Linked DNA regions of Homo sapiens: region 1 is linked to region 2. The links are contacts of gene promoters, found by promoter capture Hi-C in human tissues and cell types (Jung and others, 2019). All regions are on one chromosome and are shown on one strand. Each heading gives the region's core, a stretch centred on a gene start or on the middle of the fragment in contact. The rest is flanking DNA. Distances are from core to core; before and after follow the strand shown.

Evidence for each region. Contacts are between HindIII fragments. The study calls those that stand out against the background at their distance.
Region 1: a fragment that was not itself captured here is called in contact with the fragment with the promoter of WFDC3 in region 2 in 1 of the 25 tissues and cell types used here (hippocampus).

What each region holds. Positions count from the first base shown.
Region 1 is chr20:44,972,615-44,976,560 of GRCh38, forward strand. All of the region lies in intron 2 of STK4 (serine/threonine kinase 4), which reads left to right. Among named protein-coding and RNA genes, the nearest start is that of STK4, 8.1 kb to the left of the region's middle. The HindIII fragment of the contact is 3,126 bases long and covers 393-3,518 here.
Region 2 is chr20:45,789,011-45,793,282 of GRCh38, forward strand. It overlaps WFDC3 (WAP four-disulfide core domain 3), which reads right to left and starts at 2,873. Exons shown (of 7, transcript NM_080614.2): 1 at 2,822-2,873; 2 at 884-972; 3 at 1-49. The coding sequence starts at 965. It overlaps DNTTIP1 (deoxynucleotidyltransferase terminal interacting protein 1), which reads left to right and starts at 2,944. Exons shown (of 13, transcript NM_052951.3): 1 at 2,944-3,099; 2 at 3,667-3,737. The coding sequence starts at 2,995. RefSeq lists silencers at 3,027-3,296, 3,507-3,646. The HindIII fragment of the contact is 18,270 bases long and covers 1-4,272 here.

The sequences.
Region 1 (3,946 bases), core at 706-3,205, 820 kb before region 2:
CAGTGGATTTCCTGAAACACAGATTTGTTAATGCGTTTATAAAATACTGATGAAATGATATTAGTAATGTGCAGTGACCATCATTGACTTTCATGATACAATTAAGTTTACATAATTTTTATACTTTTATATATCATTTTAATTCAATCCTGTGTATTTATTCCTTCTTCTGTAATGACCAGGAAATTAAAATGTTAATGACACCATTTCTTAAGTTTTTCTTGTTAATTTTTGAATAGGCGATACAATCATATGATTCAAAATTTAAAAAAATATTAAGACGCATACAATAAAAAAAAAAAAAAACTGCCTCCTACCTCTCTCTGTCTCTTAGCCACCCAGAATCACCAAGGGTAGCGGCTTCTTGTGTGTCTTTCAGAGACAGGCTATGTGTGTGCGAGCGCACACTCGTGTTTGTGTGTGTGTGTGTCTGTATTTTTAATCCCTTGGGAGTATTTCTGGATCAAGGGAAGACCTGACATACTAACTTGTAAAAACAACTACTGACTGATGACTATATGCTCTTTAAAATAATTTCCTTTATGTCATTAGATTATTTTTTGGGTTTAGTATTTTTTATGTTAGGAGACAGATTTACAACGTTAAACCCAATCCTGGATTACATGAAATGGTTTTTTTATGATTTACCTCCTTGTAAAAAACATGAGTCATCGTCTTTTTGTAAGTTGGAAAAATACTCTTTGGAATCCAGCAAGAAATCAAGCAGAGAAGGGAAGTAAAAATGACACACCAGCTGTGCTGTGAAAAGACAAGTCCAAGATGAATCTGAAGACTGCCAGTTGACTGGCATCATTAAAGGTATGGGGAAATGACAGTCCCTCTACATCTGTTGCCTGCCATTTTCAGCTTTAGCTTGCCATCCTTGCTATTTTCCCTAAGGCAGCAAGGCTGTGACCTTTAATCTAACAATGCTCATAAGTTATACTTAGAATAAGTTCAAGACTGATAGGCATAATTGACTATGTAACTTATTTCTCTCATTTCTAATACAGTTTGCTCTTACTACTACAATGTGAGGCTGACCTGGGTTAAAATCCTTGCTCTACTGTTTACTGGTCATAATAGACAAGTGGGCTTAAGCAAATTGCTTACTATTTTGGAGGCTCACAATCCTCATCTGTAAAGTTGGGATAATAATATATCAATTCATAGAGTTGTGTTATTACCTGAGGTAATTGGGGTAAAGTATAGTGCTTATCACAATAATAAATGTTCAGTAAGTGGCAACTATTGCTATTCTATTTTAAATGTATCAACTGAAGCATTTTCAAGACCTCATCATGTCAAGTCTTAAAGTATTTTTAGGTGTTGTTATAGGTAGCTCTGAGCTGATTGGGTTTGTGGAATGTCAAAGGAAGACTATAGACAGAGAATATATCAGAAATATAATGTAAACAAAAAATAAGCTAATTATGATTTTTTAAATTGTATTTTATTTATTTGTTTGTTTATTTATTTTTGTAGAGACGAGGTCTCACTGTGTTGCCCAGGCTGGTCTTGAACTCTTGGCCTTAAGTGATCCTCCTGCCTCAGCCTCCCAAAGTGCTAGGATTAGAGACGTGAACCACTGCACCTGGACAAATTGCGTTTTAGATCTATGGATGTCTTCTGCAAGGAATGTGGAAATTTCCCTATGAAGATATCACCAGGGAGAAAACAAAGCTTCAGATCTTTCTTCCCATACTATCACCTTATTGTTCTTCTAAATAATACCAGATTTCTGGTATTTCTTGGATTTCTGTTATTCTGACTGAATGAACCTAAGCAAGCCTCATTTAACTAGGAATATTTTGAAGGAAGACCTTCACTGCACTTCTTTTCCAAACATGTGACACAATGCTATTCTTTTTTTTTGAGATTAAGTCTTGCTCTGTCACCAGGCTGGAGTGCAATGTCACAATCTCGGCTCACTGCAACCTCCGCCTCCCAGGTTCAAGCGATTCCCCTGCCTCAGCCTCCTGAGTAGCTGGGACTATAGGCACACACCACCACGCCCGACTTATTTTTTGTATTTTAGTAGAGATGGGGTTTCACCATATTGGCCAGGATGGTCTTGATCTCGTGATCTTGTGATCTGCCTGCCTCAGCCTCCCAAATTGCTGGAATTACAGATGTGAGCCACCACGCCTGGCCAATGCTATTCTTAAATTGTTCGGGAGGATGAATGGTTTGTGAACTCTCACTGACTTGTATCTTGTGAAATGAGCTATGGCTAAAAAAACTGTTGGATTCTGGAGGCTGCAATCATTCTGTGTTATGAGGATCATATGGATCTGTGGCAGAGTAGAGCCAAAGCTCCAGACCAGGATGAGTGGAGAGCACTTGGGAAGTGTTTTCAAGTGGAGCCTAGCACCTTTTTTCTTCTACTTAAAGTTGTACACATTGACTCATTTGAATTTTTATCATAGAATGATAACAAAAGCATCTTGCCCATGGTTTCATAAAAAATGAGTGCTATTGTTAAGACTTGTATCTGATTAATTTGGCCTCAGATACTGTGGTATTTCCATTTTTCTACATAGATCCTTGCCTTGCATGGCTTATGTAAAACACCTACTTCTCCATTCTCTGCTGTCAGTTGTAATTCATTGAATCATCTCATTTTGTTGTAGGGAATCAAGTTTTAAGGGACTTGCTTGTGAGTATGATTGCTGAAATCTTCTAACCACCCCCTATCCCTGCCTTCAGATTACTGTAGATGCAGTATATGGAATCAGGAATCTTAACTTCATGTGAGCTATTGGAGTTTTCCTTGCTATCAGGATGCATAGGGAGGTATGAAGAGTGTTCTGGTCAAGATTGCTGAGTGAGTGTATGAAGAGAACTTTCTAATATATAAGAATAATGAGTGAAAATTATTTTAAATATAAGGATATATAGACAGCTATGGACAAGGGATAGGAAAGAAATCTAAATAATCAGCGGAGACTAAAGCATGCCTTATCCTTGTCAGGAGATTGCATTTGAGCTTCCTGCATGAAGTTGGGGGCTGGAACTCGGCTCTCCATCTGTGAACTAAAGCTGAAATAAATTTGCCTGACCACAACCAGAAAGTGTCATTTGCCTGTGGCCTAGGGAAAAAATGGATATACTGGTTCGATAATAGGAACTGAGCTTGGATTGTATTTAAGTATGGTATCTTGAAGGGCAAAAACCCCAAACTCTGAATATAAGACCTGGTTTAAGTTGTATATCCCAGACTACTGTACTGAGAAAACCATGAAATCATCGACAGTGAGTGTGGTATAGAGGAAAATCATTCAAGAGAAAATGAAATCCATGCAAGGAAATCTACTGCCATGAGATAATCAGCAGAATGGGAGAATTCACACTGAAGGAAAAAGAAATAATGAAGCAATCTCAAAAACAATTTAATATAATTACAATTTTCAAAAAGATCAAGGAGGAGATAACATTTTTAAAAGGACATCAGATTATTGACATGATTATTAACATATTTGCCCAAAGGCAGATAAAAAGTTGGGAATCTTGACAATGAAAACTACAACAATTGAAGTTTTAAAAGCCCAATAAATTGGATAAACAGTAAACTAGACAAACTGAAAGGAGAATTTGTGAATTGAAAGATAGAAATGAGACTGATCACAACATGCAGAAATACAGTGTTGGAAACCAGGAAGACAACATAGATTGAGGAGGTCTAATACAGTTTTGGTAGGAATTCTAAAAGAAGATCCTAGAAGTGGTAGAGGAAATAATCACATAATAATCCTGAGAGTTTTTCATTCTTGAGGAAAGACACGAGCCCTCAGATTGAAGAAGTTTATGAAGTGCCAGATCAACTCCTAGTTACATTACAGTAGAATAGTAGACTGTTAAGGACAAAGGAAACCTTAAAAACTATGGGGAGATTACCCATGGAAAATGATAATCTGATAAAAGCTGACTTCTCAGCCACAGTCGA
Region 2 (4,272 bases), core at 1,623-4,122:
CACAGCTCTTTGCATGGGTTCTTATGGGGAGGGCATTCTCCCTCTTTTGCTGCAAAAGATACTATTTGAGTTTGGGGTAACTAGCCAGGCCTCAGAAATGGGGAATGGACCTTCAGCCCCTCCAGGCATCTCTATCCAAAATATTTCTGCACCACTGCACTCTAGCCTGGGTGACAGAATGAGACCCTGTCTCTTAAAAAAAAAAAAAAATTCTGGCTGGGCACGATAGCTCATGCCTGTAATCCCAGCACTTTGGGAGGCCGAGGCGGGCGGATCATGAGGTCAGGAGATCGAGATCATCCTGGCTAACACAGTGAAACCCCATCTCTACTAAAAATACAAAAAATTAGCTGGGCGTGGCGGCGGGCACCTGTAGTCCCAGCTACTCGGGAGGCTGAGGCAGGAGAATGGCGTGAACCTGGGAGGTGGAGTTTGCAGTGAGCTGAGATCACGCCACTGCACTCCAGCCTGGGTGACAGAGTGAGACTCCATCTCAAAAAAAAAAAAAAAATTCTGCAACCACCTTCCCCTCCTCATACACAAATACTAACATATATCCACCACTGCTAAAGGAGCAGCCATCCTGCAGATAACGAGAGAGAAAGGGTGGGATGATCCTGTTCTCATTTAATGAGTTCTAGGGAAAAGCTAGAACCTCTAGTAAGCCCAACTGGAAGTCCTATCTCCTTGTCCAGAGAGGGTAAAGAAAGCCAGGAAGAATGACCCAGGCCATCCTGAGAATCTATTCATCCAGTCCTGTCCTATAGAGATGATCATCTCCACTTACAAGCAACCTTGCTCTGGGAGAAGGCAGGGGATGAGTTCTCCTCTCCTCTAGTCACTTTCTGTTACTGTTGGCCAGGGATCCCAAATGATAGCTCACCATGTTCTCCTGCAGTTATCCAGGATTCCAGAGACCCAAGAGCAAGAAGTGCCTTCAGAAGAAAGAGGCAGCTTAACATCATGATGATGCTGAGAGTTGGGACAAGAGCTCAGTTCAGGCTAGAGGTGTACACCTTGCCCAGAGTATCAGCTGAGGTATGAGCAGGACTAGGGATGGCCCCAAACCCAGTCCCAAAACCTTCCCTTTCACAATACTCCCCAAGAATATCTTCTCCTGACAAGAAGAAGAGGGATTGGCTGCTGGAGTGTGGGAAAATTCCTGGCACTACCAAAGGGGACCTGTGATGGGAGGATCAAATTCTGTAAGCAATATACACAATATTCCTGGATGATGAGAAACCTAGTGGGTGGCTGGAAAAATGGAGGGGTGGCCATTGGAAAAAGAATCAAAGAGAGCCCTAAAGGGCATTGGAAGGACATGGCTTTAGCCCAAATAACAGAGGGAGGGATTCACGACACTACTTAATGGCCAAAGCTAATAACATAACCAAGCATAATAAAATTGTGGCTCCTGTTCATCCTAGCAACCAAGAAAATACAGAATGGAACAGACCACTCAGAAACTATCAAATAGGCCAAGGCGGGCAGATCACCTGAGGTCAGGAGTTTGAGACCAGCCTGGCCAACATGGCGAAACCCTGTCTCTACTAAAAATACAAAAATCAGCTGGGCATGCTGGTGCATGCCTGTAATCCCAGCTACGTGGGAGGCTGAGGCAGGAGAATAGCTTGAACCCAGGAGGCAGAGGTTGCAGTGAGTGGAGATCATGCCACTGCACTCCAGCTTGGGTAACAGAGTGAGACTCTGTCTCAAAAAAAAAAAAAAGAGAGAAAAGAAACTATCAAAAACCTACAGAAAAGCAGTAGTTGAGTTTGTTAAGAACTAATGAAAAGCACCAAACACCTACATCTTTGTCCCTCTAACCCACACAGGCCATTCTTGGACTGTATGAAGTCTAGCTGGCAGAACCCAAGAGAAGTTGCTATGTATGACTCAAATAGTCTGCCCACATATACCTCCTTTATTTCTTTTTTCTCCATTTCTTTTTTTCTTTATCTGTCCTGGTCATGCCTTTGGTTAGCTGTGATACCTAATGGTGTCCACTGGCACTGCTTAGTCCTATGGGCAGGTACAAGGTAAAACCTCCTTAATAGGATCAAAAAGTTTGGAGCCAGGAAGTCGCCCTTATGGTTAGAAGGCTGATGTTGGCTCATGGAGATAATTAACATTTGATGATGACCTCATATGTGCCTAATATGCTTTTTTTTTTTTTTTTTTTTTTTTTTTTGAGACAGAGTCTCCCTCTGTCCCCCAGGCTGGAATGCAGTGGCGCGATCTCGGCATAATTAACATTTGATGATGACCTAACATGTGCCTAATGTGCTTTTTTTTTTTTTTTTTTTGAGACAGTCTCCCTCTGTCGCCCAGGCTGGAGTGCAGTGGCGTGATCTCGGCTCACTGCAACCTCCGCCTCCTGGGTTCAAGAGACTCTCCTGCCTCAGCCTCCCGAGTAGCTGGGATTACAGGTGCCCACCACCACGCCCGGCTAATTTTTATATTTTTAGTAGAGACGGGGTTTCGCCATGTTGGCCAGGCTGGTCTCGAACTCCTGATGGCAAGTGATCCTCCCGCCTCGGCCTCCCAAAGTGCTGGGATTACAGGCGTGAGCCACCGCCCCTGGCCGAGCATATTAAAATCTAGTTTTCAAAAACTGAACTGCAGGCGCCGCTGTACCAAACGCTTCCCTCTGCTCCCCAACCCCAGCCTACAGAAAACTGGTCCCTTCCTCCTACCCCGCAGTCATCCCCAGGCCTTGGCCCAGCGGGAAACATCCCTTGACTGAACCGCCACTGAACACCCACACTGCACAATCGAGGCGCAGCCCTCCCGAGAGGAAGCCCCAACGACCTCCACCTACAAGGCCTCTAAGTGTAACTGTCCTGGGCGAGGCGCGGCGGTTCGGTTCCCATGGTAACCCCGCAGCTCCAGCGTCGCGCTTCCGGGCGGACGAGCAGCGCGCTCCAGTGACGTCACGGCGCCACTTTCCGGCCGGTGACAGAGTCCAGCGGAGTTGTGGGGGCCGGGGGCGCCATGGGAGCCACTGGCGACGCCGAGCAGCCGCGGGGACCTAGCGGGGCCGAGAGGGGCGGCTTGGAGCTGGGGGATGCGGGCGCAGCGGGGCAGCTGGTTCTTACGGTGAGGGCGCCCCCGGTGAGGTCTGGGCTCAGGCCGGGCACGGCCTCGGGGCTCCTGGGACCCTGGCCCGCGGGCGAGAGAACGCGGAGGCTGGAGCTGCAGAGGGGGTTGGCGTTTTCGCAGCCCGACGACCTGGATTTAAATTCTGGTGCCGCCCTCCTAGCTAGGTGACGTGGGCCATCTCTGTCAACCCCCTGAGTCCCAGGATCCTCTTCTATAAAATGGAAATGATTAGTACCTGTCTCATAAAACTTGTTGTGGGATGGGAAGATAAAGGCGGGTACAACGCCCCGGACATCACCTGACACAGAGTTGACCCTCGGTAAATACTGCTTCCCTTCCTCCTGCCGTGCCAGAAGGCAGGGTCGGGACTTTTAAGGCAGGAAACTTCCTCAGTTCCTCTTTTGTGGAGGAGGCCTTACAACTATCGTCCCACCCCAAGGCGGGAGAGATGGTGACGGATCTGAGAAGCAGGGATGTCCAGGTTTAACTTCATACCCACCCTCCACCTCCACCCCACCCCAGTGTCACAGGCCGCAGTGACATTTGTTCCGTTGGTCCCCACAGAACCCTTGGAACATAATGATAAAGCACCGGCAGGTGCAGCGGAGGGGCCGCCGCTCACAGATGACAACAAGGTAAGGCTGGCCCTGCATGGGGCTTATATCCCAGCCACTGGCTTGCATGGCAGATTTGGGATCCCCAGTGCACAAGGCTATGGAGATCTACAGCCGGTAGAAAGAGCACAGGACTGAGGAAGAGGAGACTCCGATTCTGTAACTCTGTGTGATCTTGAACTAGTCAAGTCACTTCCTTCTCTGAACTCACGTACAAAATGGGGAAGGGCACAGGAGATGGGTTGTGGAATAAACAATACCTAAGATCCCTCACATTCACTGGCTCTGTGGTTGAGGGCTCTAAAGAGGTCAGTTAGCATGGAGTTTAAGAGAACAGGCTCTGGAGTCAGACAACTGTGTTCTCATCAACAGACTCTGATGAGCCCGTTTTCTCAACTATAAAGAGGGATTAATAGTATGCATGTCAGGGAAGGGAGAGAGCACAAGGTGGGCCTTTGGGATGCTGATAGTGGTGAAATGGATGTTCACTATAATTACTCATTAAAGTGTATAGACTTTTCTGTATAAGTATTATATTTCATAAAAACACTTTGGG